Regions from separate parts of the Homo sapiens genome. Here regions 1 and 3 are each linked to region 2. The links are contacts of gene promoters, found by promoter capture Hi-C in human tissues and cell types (Jung and others, 2019). All regions are on one chromosome and are shown on one strand. Each heading gives the region's core, a stretch centred on a gene start or on the middle of the fragment in contact. The rest is flanking DNA. Distances are from core to core; before and after follow the strand shown. Region 1 has its middle 11 kb from the start of RXFP3. Region 2 holds the start of ADAMTS12 (ADAM metallopeptidase with thrombospondin type 1 motif 12). Region 3 overlaps ADAMTS12 (ADAM metallopeptidase with thrombospondin type 1 motif 12).

The links. Contacts are between HindIII fragments. The study calls those that stand out against the background at their distance.
Region 1: a contact is called between a fragment that was not itself captured here and the fragment with the promoter of ADAMTS12 in region 2, in 1 of the 25 tissues and cell types used here (bladder).
Region 3: a fragment that was not itself captured here is called in contact with the fragment with the promoter of ADAMTS12 in region 2 in 6 of the 25 tissues and cell types used here (H1 embryonic stem cells, bladder, dorsolateral prefrontal cortex and 3 more).

What each region holds. Positions count from the first base shown.
Region 1 is chr5:33,923,155-33,926,958 of GRCh38, reverse strand. No RefSeq gene overlaps it. Among named protein-coding and RNA genes, the nearest start is that of RXFP3, 11 kb to the left of the region's middle. The HindIII fragment of the contact is 5,149 bases long and covers 1-3,804 here.
Region 2 is chr5:33,890,378-33,894,383 of GRCh38, reverse strand. ADAMTS12 (ADAM metallopeptidase with thrombospondin type 1 motif 12) reads left to right here and starts at 2,394. Exons shown (of 24, transcript NM_030955.4): 1 at 2,394-2,654. The coding sequence starts at 2,528. RefSeq lists enhancers at 2,111-2,610, 2,611-3,112. The HindIII fragment of the contact is 6,841 bases long and covers 656-4,006 here.
Region 3 is chr5:33,839,583-33,843,176 of GRCh38, reverse strand. The region is part of intron 2 of ADAMTS12 (ADAM metallopeptidase with thrombospondin type 1 motif 12); the gene reads left to right. Among named protein-coding and RNA genes, the nearest start is that of ADAMTS12, 51 kb to the left of the region's middle. The HindIII fragment of the contact is 3,081 bases long and covers 639-3,594 here.

The DNA.
Region 1 (3,804 bases), core at 398-2,897, 33 kb before region 2:
ACCTCTGCCACCCGGGTTCAAGCGATTCTCCTGCCTGAGCCTCCCAAGTAGCTGGAATTACAGGCACCTGCCACTGCGCCCGGCTAATTTTTGTAGTTTTAGTAGAGACGGGGTTTCACCATGTTGGCCAGGGTGGTCTTGAACTCCTGACCTAGAGATCCACCCACTTCGGCCTCCCAAAGTGCTGGGATTACAGGCGTGAGCCAGCACGCCCAGCCCACAATAGTCTGGTTTTAAATCAGCCACCGCTTGCTTCCCCATCCTCACTCATTAATCTGATTGTCAAGTTTTATCACTGTGGATGCACACATGTCAATCTCTGTTTTCCCAGATTGGTGCCTTTGCTAAAAATGTTCTTGTGAATGTTTTCTCTTTTCCCTCATTTCAATGTGTTTCAATCTGACCTGTACTTTAAGGCAAAATGCTACCTTCTTTGGGAAGCCTTCCCTAATTTCTTAAGAAACAGGTAGGCTGGGGGCAGTGACTCACGCCTGTAATCCCAGCATTTTGGGAGGCCAAGGTGGGTGGATCACTTGAAGTCAGGAGTTCGAGACCAGCCTGGCCAAACGGTGAAACCCCATCTCTACTAAAAATACAAACATTAGCTGGGTGTGGTGGTGGACACCTGTAATCCCAGCTACTCGGGAGGCTGAGGCAGGGAGAATTGCTTGAACCTGGGAGGCAGGGGTTGCAGTGAGCCGAGATTGCACCATTGCACTCCAGCCTGGCCAAGAGAGAGAGACTCCATCTCAAAAAAAAAAAAAGAAAAGAAAAAGGAAAAAGAAAAAAGAAAAAGAAACAGGTGTGATTTTTTTCCCCTCTCAATCTTAGAACCCTCTATTAGCATATCTCTTAAGGCATACGTACCTGTGTAAGGAGTGCTGTGGCTCTTTCAGTATATTTCTCATCTCATTTCAAAGGGTGTCATCCTCTTGTGGACAGGCCGTGTATCATCATCGTGGTTGTTTGCTCTTAGTGCTGAGCCCAAATCTTTCACATGTGTGAGCACAGAACAGGCTTGTTGATTGGAGTCTACATTCAGGTGGTTTCCTCTTAGGAAGGCAATCCAAAAATCCTTAAAAGGTAACTTACAAGTTTCCCCTAACTATCCACTCATGTAGAATATCCAAGTGTAACTCTAGGGGAATTGACATTTTAAAATATTTTATTTTTGCCTAACCTATACCTGCATCTAGCTTAAAGCCACCTGCACATTAAAGCAAGGGTGAAGCCTTTTAAAAATACTGATGCCCAGTGCCAATCTTAAAACAATTAAATCAGAAGCACTTGTGGAAGAGTAAAACATGAAAATTTCAGTTCCCCAATAGCTGGGTCCTCTATATTTCTTCTGCCCATAGGCACATTCAAATGTTTTAAACAATTCTTTTACTATATAGCTCAATAACTCTAGCTGATATGCTTATATTGCTACTCTATGTTTTCATTTTAGGCATTATTTTTCAGTTCCTACTGTGGAAGGTGAGTAGCCCTTTTTCTCACACATTGCTCTTTCACTTCTAGTAACATTCTAACACCTCCCCATTTGGTTCTGTTGTACTTTTGAAAGATCAATTTCTAGCATTTATGCTGTAATGACTTTACTAACAATTGAGCCATACAGTATATAGCAATTGTTTTTTTTTTCTTGCACAATGTTTTGTCTCCATTGAAATTAGCAATTATCGTGGTTTGTTCAACGTAATGATCACTAAAGTATCCTCAAACTGTCTTTGAATTGTGAAAAATCTTTTCTCCATATCTTAAAAAAATTAGGTTCTTCTCTATCTGAGGATGTTAGCCTCTTCTTGCCTAAAGACATTCTGCCCTGAGGTTAGGGCCTTGCAAAGGGCTTTTGGTCATCCTAAGGACTACCTCCCCTGTTTAAAGAGGGGGCTCTATAATCAGACAAAGTCCTGGCAGGCCCCAGGGAGTCTGGGAATACTTAAGCGTGACACGTGAAGAAAGTACAGTATACACCAAAATAATTGCAAGTTTATCAATGTTGTTGATGGAAACTGAGAACATTTATGGAAATGGATCCTAAAAGTGCTGGATTATGGTGGAAGAAATGCAATGTTGGTCTGGTCACATTTGTTGATATGAGTACAGCATGCAGAGATTCTAGATTTAGTATATTAGTTCAAGCTATAGGAAGTGGCTCTAACAGTGTACTTGTTGGTTGGTTGAAACATGGATCTAGAAGTATCCTAGACAAAATTTAAACTGAAATGCCAGAAATTTTAGAAATGTCTCAGTATACTACAAGGGACACTACCCAGATGCTTAGGATGATAGGCATGGTAAAGTAGATTTACCACGTAAGATCTGCTTACTCATCCCTAACTGTGTATACTCTTTCAACAAGGCAGCAAGAAATACATTCATGAGGGGACCCTGGGCATCTTTGAAGACCTCTGTGGAGTTGTTATCAGTAGGCCAGGAATGCAAGTGGGAACTGCTGTCATTGACCTAGACTCCTTGAATTCAATGAAGATAATGGGATTTCAGGGTGGCAGGGGCCCAGTGGAGGCCCTGAATTAGCAGAGGTGAAGTAGGAAAGGCATGACAGTATGCAGCAAAGTGGAAGCAATGATCAGAATGGTTTGACCTATGACTTCAGTGCTAATTGACCATTGTTTCTAGGACTGAAATAGGTGGACAACCTTGTAAGGTCTTACTTGATATGTACAAGCAAAAAAGTCACTAAACTTTGTGAACAGAGATCTAACTTGAATCACAGTAACAGAGATGTTGTCCCTCAAATAATTACCAGATTTGAACCAGTTTATAGATGCGGAGTCCCTTGGATGAAAGGGAGGCCAGGTACCTTCAAGGAAGAACTGTGAAAAACAGCCAAAAATTTGTATTGTAATCATTCTCTTTAGCTTTCACCAAAAGAACTTGCATTCATTTGCCAGTGTGACTGGGAATAGAGGAGAAGAAATAGCTAGACTTTGGCTCTGAATTGACACTAATTCCTAAAGGCCCAACATTGCATTGTGGGCCACTAATCAGAATAGAAGCTTATGGACATCAGGTGATCAATGAAATTTTGGCTAAGCTCTGTCATATGGTGGGCTTAGTGTGTCCCCTAAACCACACTGTGGTTATTTACTCAGTTACAGAATGCATAATTGAATTACTCAACAATGCGCAGAATTCCTCTATTGGTTCCCTGGTCCATGGAGTGAGGGCTACTGTAGAAGCCCAAGTGGAAGCTAGTAGAGTGGCTTTTCCTCACCAAAATAGTAAACCAAAAGTCATACCATATACTTGGAGGAATCCTGCAGAAGTTAGTGTCATCACCAAGGACTTAAGGGGTGCACAGGTGGAAATGAAATGGCAACCATTTCTGTGTATGGCAAGAGGCAGTTGTATCTTGCTCACATTTTAAGTGACCTCCATGCTACTTTATTGGCATTGGGCAGCAGCTGGGATTTTAGCTCTTCCACTTTCTACTGCATATCTTTCTTTAGCTTTTTTTGAGTCCTGGGCCAGGCACATGTGTAGCTCTATAGCAAAAGGTATCAGCTTCCTCTGCAGGTCATCTGCATTGTCAGTTCTGGAGGTAGTGAGAGAGGGATTTTACTAAATTCAAGTTTGTCTTCATGGGTTCCAGCAGAAGAACAGTTTTTTTTAAAGAAGAAGAAGACAGGACAAGTGAATATGCCTGGAAATGATTGAAGGTTATCTTACTCCAACTCCAAAGAAAATTTGGCTGATAGATTTAGGCAGATCCTTCTAGCAGGCAAAGAGCAAAGAACCAAAGTCAGCTGTGCATGGGAGACTATGCTTGAGGGAGAG
Region 2 (4,006 bases), core at 1,145-3,644:
TTGATGAGGAAGATATGAGATGTTGAATGTACTGGTTTAAGGAGGTGGATCAAAGGGTATGACTGGGCAAAAAAGGTGGTGAGTCCAGAGAGATGCTGATTATTAGAAAACCAAAGATGGGGAGATCAAGGAACTAGAAGTTCCTACTAGGCTGAAGATCCGAGGTACTGGGTATAAAGGTTTGGAAGGGCTGGCAGAATACAAAGTGTTGGTGGGATTTTATAATTTTAATATTTCAGTCTTGGTTGACTTATGGATAATAGATATTCCTGGTTATGGTCTTGAGAGTAGATGGGAGAAAGAATAAGGGAAATGCCATTAGAGTTGAAGAGGCTAAACTGTGAAGCCAGAGTGTTCAGTGTATCATCCCTGATATTGGTGGAACTCAGCAGTTCTCCAGAGTTCTTCAGGTTTCTGCCTGAGAGACAAATCTCTTCTCCAGGACCTGGGAGCTAGGAGTGATCTTGCCCTTTGGACAAGATCTTGCTTGCTATTAAAAGGAGCAGCAGGAGAAAAAAAGGTGGAAGAAGAAGAGTGACAGAAGAGTACAAGGAGGAGAGAGAAACAAGGAAAGGGTGAAGGGAAGCAAAGAAGAAGGGGAAGAGGAAGAAAAGAAAAGAAGCAAAAAGAATTCTAGCCCAAAGTTGTTCTTCAATGCCCTTGCAAATGCAGGTCATCATGCCTGTGTTATCTGAATGTCTTTTAACTCCAGTTGTGATCCTGCTTCCTAATGTTTACGTAACAGAAAAAAGGCTCAGAGTAGTTCTTTTACTTGCTTGTGACAACAAAACATGTTCTGTTACACGTAAAGGGGATTTAAGGTTGCAGATGGAATTAAGGTTGCTAATCAGCTGATTAGGAGAGTGTCCTGGTTAACCAGGATGAGTCTAATGTAATCGCAAGGGTCCTTATAAGTGGAAAAGGGAGGAAGAAGAGTGATGTGATGTGAGAAAGACTCAAAGGGCCATTGCTAGCTTTGATGGGGGAAGAGGGCCATGAGCTGAGGAATTCAGGCAGCCTCTAGAAGTTGGAAAAGGCAAGACAACAGATTCTCCCCTAGAGTCTTCAGAAATGAATGCAGCTGTGCTAACTCCTTGATTTTAGCCCAGTGAGACCAGTTTCAGATCAGAACTGTCACATAAGAAATTTGAGTTGTTTCAAGCCACTGAATTTATGGTAACTTGTAACACCAAAAATAGGAAACTAGCATATACCTCTCAAAGTCTTGGTGCCCATGTGTTCCACATCTGAGAGGACCACCTTGCTTTCAGACCACTGAGTTTGCCTTGGAGGCTCTGTCCCTATACAAGGTTGAGTAAGCTGGTATCCCAGAACTCTTGATTAACACATGTGGTTGGCTGGCAGCCAGGGAAAAGTCAATATTGGGGGCCGAATTCTTCCTGAATGGAGTAAGGAGGCCTGTTTCAGCTCAGAGGTGAAAAATCTTGGCTGGATTAGCCCAGTAAATTCTCAAGATGCCTGGCAAGCGTCCTGGATTGTGGCATTCTCTGACCGATGTAAAAGCTTGAGCCTCTGAATGAATGGACGCCCTCTCCAGGGTAGCCAGTTCAGGGAAACTGGGGAGATACCTTAACACCTTCCTGGGTTGACTTAATTCCTGGTTTCCTTTTGAGTGAATGGAGGTGGGCTAGGAAAGATGGGGTTCTAGAATCAGAAGAGCCGCACAGAGATCTGCAGACTCAGAGGGGCCCACAGGCATTTGCAGCAGTCACCTCATTGCACAGCTGAGGGGGCTTGTCTGAGGTCACATTAGCAGATTAGCGCAGCCCATTTCCCTTTGTGTGACTTGGCAAAGAGAAAAATCGCCTATTAGTTTTTCCAGTGGAAGAGAATCCCAGAGCGGTCCGAGTGGGTGAGGAGTCTTGATAGAGCGATGTTGGGAAAAGTTCAGGAACTTGGAGGAGAACAGCAGGGGAGGGGGCAGCGCTGAGCGCGGAAGGATGGAGGGAGTGGGGCCCCCCTCTGCCTCAACTCTGTTCTCCTCATTTTGAGCTTGTATTTAAGCACGCCGGGGGGCTGGCCTGGGGGCCTCTCACTCGCAGCTTCCTCCAGTGCCTCCCAGGGCGGCTCTCCCGGGTCTCCCCTATTTGGCCGGCTCGGCCAGCTGGGCCTGGCGTTCGGGGCGGGGCCGGAGGAGCGCGGGGGTGGGAGTCCGGGAGGAAGATGCACCGAGCGGGCGGGCTGCGAGGCCGCGGGGCATGCGGGAGGCGGAGGGGTGGGGACCGGGGTGGGCTGCGCCCTCCCGCTCTGGCCCATTCCACACCCCGCCGAAAGCGGACACTGTCAGCTGAATCACTCCCCTTTTAGGAGGAGGGAGGGGAAAAAGGTGTCTAGCTCCTTTCTGCTTAAAAAAGCACAGGGAGATCGCGGGCAGCTTTGCAGTCGCTGCCTTCTCGCGCCTGACCATGCACCCCTGCATCTTCCTGCTGGGCCACAGGCGAGCGCTTTATTTCTGGAGCTGAGGGCTAAAACTTTTTTGACTTTTCTTCTCCTCAACATCTGAATCATGCCATGTGCCCAGAGGAGCTGGCTTGCAAACCTTTCCGTGGTGGCTCAGCTCCTTAACTTTGGGGCGCTTTGCTATGGGAGACAGCCTCAGCCAGGCCCGGTTCGCTTCCCGGACAGGAGGCAAGGTTAGTGACTCTTCTTTATTTCTTTTTAAAACAGTGGTGGTAAGACTTGCGGGAATTTTGTTGCTCCCCTTTCCCTTCCCCCACCCGGCAGAACTGAACTCTGAAAAGCCATTTGGCTGCGTTGTAAGGAAATCTGGGCTGGGACCTCAGGAGCCTAGGCTTTCTCAGAATTCAGTGCTTAAGGTGATGAGTCCTTCATTCTTATAGAAAGGTGAGTACCTCACTCTTTTACAGGGATGACACTGCAGTCTTTGAAAGACCCAAGAGGTAGCTGGTAACTTTTTCTCTTTTGTCTCCTCTTTGAATGCTGTACTGTTTTGATCCCCTATTTTTCAGACTCTAAACATGGAAAATTTTTTTTTTAAGTGCTAACTGGCTACTGGCCGTCATTGCAGTGTTTCTAGTTAGTTTTAAACCTCTGGTCAGGAAAGGGGAAATGTGATTCTTCCCCCCTACTGAGCAGGCTTGGCTGTGTTTTGGTTTCCTGGAAAGATTTAGGGTTGTATTTTTGAAAGAATAGTCCTTTTGGGGGAACTATACCTCCATAAGGGCTCACTTTTTCCTGTCCTGTCTCACTGACCACAGCTGGCTGCTTCTCTTTATGAATTTCTGAACTCATGTTATTGTAGGAAGCATTGGAAGCGTTCTGGTGGACAATTTGTTGTTGTTGTTTTATTCTTTTAAGCCTAACAGTCAGCAGTTTATTGGACTTGGAAGGGTCAGAGGCACCTTCATGTTTGGTGGGGGGTTCATTGTACCTCTGGGGGTAAACAGTCCTAGCAGCAGCAATGGCCCGCGTGGCACTCTGTGTCAGCCCATCCGATCACTGGCAATAGCCTTCCAGGGTGCAGGTACCAGTGTTGCTGTCCCTGCTGTACAGATGAGGATGCTGCAGCTTGGAGAGCTTATGAGGCCAGCTAATGTAGAGCAGAGTTTTCAGCTCAGGTAGTCTGACTCTTAGAATCATGCAGCACTGTCCTGTAGCAATAATAGGGACACACACGCACACACACACGCATATGCACCCACACGCATGCACACGCACACAGAGCACTGGGTTAGCATGCACTAAGTCCTGTGTTTGCTGACTGTGCTGAAGCCTCGGGAAGTGTCCTCCATGACTTTCTGACATCCCTTTAATTCCCAAGGCCACTCGGGTGATAAACATCACCAGCCTGTCCTTGTTTAGGATTTCTAAGCAGGGTTTTCTGCTCATGTTGTAAAATTCAAATATTGCTGGACAACTCATCTGCTGTGGCTTCAAGACGTATCAGAAGCAAGTCCCTCTCTTTGCTTTACTTGGAAAGCTGGAGCCAGCAAACACTGGGGTTAGATGTCAGTCAGCCAGCACT
Region 3 (3,594 bases), core at 930-3,429, 51 kb after region 2:
TAGTCCACCTCAGCTCTCCTCTCGTTCCAACCCTACACAGATGCATACTTTTATCTGTCCTACTTAAGGGCTTTAGAACTGAACTGTTCAGGAAGGGAAAGGTAGGGAGAGAAGGGCACCATGTTTGTCTGGGTGATCACCAAGGGCCCTTCCAATTCATGCTATGGGGATTTAGACTGTGAGTGCCAGCCACTCAGCATTGCTTACTTTTTCATTTCCTGTAACCTTCATAACAAATCTATGAAGTTGACCCTATGCTGGCTTAGCTACAGATTCCCAGCTCTACCTTAGTGTTTCTTGGAGCTCACCAAGTCTGGCTCTGTCTTTTGTAGTTTTTCTAGCCTTAGCTTTCTGAATGTGTGTTCGCACCCCACTGTTATCCTGGCTCTTGGTATGATGCCTACTGTCCTGGTGTCCAGGGGTCTTCTGTCCTTTTATGGGTCACCTACAGGGTCTCTGCACTGTTAGAGGGCTTAGATGGAGAGACTGTCCCAGTGCCTGGCACCATGCCTGCCTCCCACTTTCCTCTGTTTTTCCAGCTGCCCCTTGCGTTTCCTCAATAGTTCCTTATGCAGCACTCTGGATATTAAGTAAGCTTTGTGCTAATTTCAGCATGAAAAGCTCTGTTTAAAAGTTGCAGTGTAGACAACTCCTGTTTTAAATTATTTTTGCTCTAAAAGCTTTTATGCTATGAGGACTTAGACTTTTGTGAACCCTCCCTTTGTGGAAAGCTGCAACCTTGAGGATTTTCTTATACTGGAGCCATCCCCAAAGCAAATTCTATTTTACCATGATTCAGCAGAATAATTTGTAATAGTTCCCTAAGTAAAGCACCTTTTAAATTTATGTAAAAATTAGAAAGGAAGAATGAGGACCACAACAAAGATGAAAGAGTCAGGGGAGAAAAGGCATGAAGAAAGCACATTTCGCTTTTTTGCATAGGATTACCAATTATTTTGCTTCTCTTATGAGTTACAGATGAACGTTTCCAATGACTCGCTGGGCCTGTCTACTTAGATGTCTTAACAAAGTAAAGTCATAATCCTTTTGTTCTGGAGATTGAGAAGGCATTGCTGAGAGATGGTTAAGGAGACAAAACTGAGGCTTCACCCGATTGCATGAGTGGTGCTAATGGCATTTACCCGGGTGTCCAGGTGTTCAGGGAGATCATGAAGTCAAAAAGGGGATGGTGTAAGAGGAAAATGAAGATGTGTCAGGGTGTGGAATTTCATGGTTGTGTAAGAATGAGAGGTAGAACCTATTGACCCATGTGGCCCTGGCTGAAAGATTTTGATGAGGAGAGAAGCATGAGTCTGCATAAAAAATTACTTCTCTCCCAGAATACCCTACCCTACTCTGGACTGCTTGGTAGCATCTAGGACTCAGCACAAATGCTCCTTCTTGCATTGCGTTGTCAGGAACCCTAGCATAGCAGTCCCATTGATGGGGAGAGAGCAGAAACCATAATGCACTTACATGCAAGACTGAATAGTAGGAAATTAACCCATTTATGCCAGAGGTTGCAAGTTTTTGTGTGTGAAAAATCAGACCTTGGCGACGACCTTGAGCAGTAGGATAAAAATAACTCCTACAAGCTTAGCATTCCAATAATGGAACACTAGGCAAAAATGGGTTATGCTCCAAATGTAGGCCACCCTATTTGAAAGAAAGAAAAATACAGGTCAGAGCATGAGGAGAACAAAAAGTGTGAGTTTGAGTTTTTCTTTTGGAAGTTGAAAGAGAAATGAGCAAAGCCACAGGAGAACCAGAGGTTAACCAGAGACAGGATGGTTGGTGAAATGAAGTGGCAGAGGAAGTAAGAGGTCCAAAGCTGACAGCACAGTGAGAAGACTTTGCCTTAGATGGAAGTACAGGCCCTTTATGCTACAAAAAGGATGAAAAGGAAGGAGGGAGTAGCTGCAGACAACTGTGAGGTTGTGGGGCAGGAGGTGGAGGGAGCTGCAGCAGGGCCTGGAGTCACCAAACCCTAGCAGTACTGGTAAGGGCTGTGGCTATTGAAGCCTGATTGAACAGTCTGGGGTTCAGGGAGAGAATCCAGCCAGGAGACTGTGTGGTCATGTGTGCCACACAGACTGGGGGGACAAGACAGAGCTAAGGGTGGGAGCAGCTCAATTGGCCATATGTGCCACACAGACTGGAGGGACATGGCAGAGCTAAGGGTGGGAGCAGCTCAGTTCAGCAGGACTGGAATGCTTAGCTTCAGTTGATTTGAGCACTGCACTAAACCTAAAGCATCTGAGTTTGATTTGGTTTAGCACTGCACTAAACTGAGGCTGATTTGGCTTAGTACTGCATCTGAGGCTGCCTTTGGATTAGCACTGCACTAAACCAAAGGTGTCAGAGGCTGATCAGTGACCAAACAAGGGCTGCACCTGCAGGCCGAGGATTCCTCCTATCCCTGCAGGGTGGCCCTGGGGATCCAGGGTCTCATATGCCAGAAGGGCTGCAGTAAGTAAGGCTGCTGCATTCCTGGGGCCTTGGGCATAGAGCTGAATACTGTTAGTACAGCTTCCCATGGCTACAACCAGTTTCAACACCTGACTGTGTGCCAGGCACTGTCAGAGGTGCTTACTTCTTTATTTCACATAACCTTCACAACTAATCTATGAGGTGGTACCATTATCATCTCCACAGTTGAGAAGAGGAAACAGGCCACAGGGAACTTAGGTGAGTTGCTCAGGGTGGCACATCTGTGGCCAAGCTGTGAGTTAACCCAGGCTGCCAGGTTCTTCATCCTGAGGTCTTCACCAACATGCCATGGTTAATTAAAGGGTGAGATGGAGAAACTGAAGCAAGGAGATAGTGTTAGGAAACCCTTCCTAAACAGAAGTAGTAAGGAGAAAAGAATTTGAATACATACAGTGAGACCCTAGAGCTCAAGCATTGTATATCTTTACCTGAGATCTTACAAAGAGGAAGATGAAGATGTAAAAGAATAAAGTAGGCTATGCTGATATTTCACATCCTGGCCAGAGATCACCCTGCTTTTGTAAAGCTTTGGAGAAAATGGGTGTAAGTAAACTTGCCTCTGGGGCACTTCTTCCTTCATGGAGATTTGGTGTCTTTCTGCAAGTGGAGATCCTTAGGCTTTGTCAAGGAAAGTCAGTGAATGGGGAATTAGTGAGTTTGCTTAGAAAGATTTATCTTTTCATCAAAATACATTTAGAGGAATAAATTTGAATTATTTAATGCCCAAACCGTCTTCTTTTTGTAGTGTCTTTTTCTTCCTAGCTAGTCACTTGATTCAGCCCTAGTAAAACACAGAAGAACTGTCTTCTTCCCGTTTCATGAAGTTACCAAGCAAACTACTGTATTTGTTTATAGTGAACAAAAATGATAGCACGGACAAATGCGGAGAAGCAGGGCTAATGTTTGTATTGCTTGCGTTTCAGTGAAGAACGCGATACAACCTTTTTGAGTGGGCAGGGCACGGTGGTGGGGATAAGGGTGGAGAACACTGTGTTGTGGGAGGAGTTTTAAAGTGGACAGTCAAACCTAGGAGGCAAGAAGCTTGATGTTGGTGGAAACCAAGAAAGGACCCTCTGTCTTCAGTCGGCTCCCCTCAGCATGGAG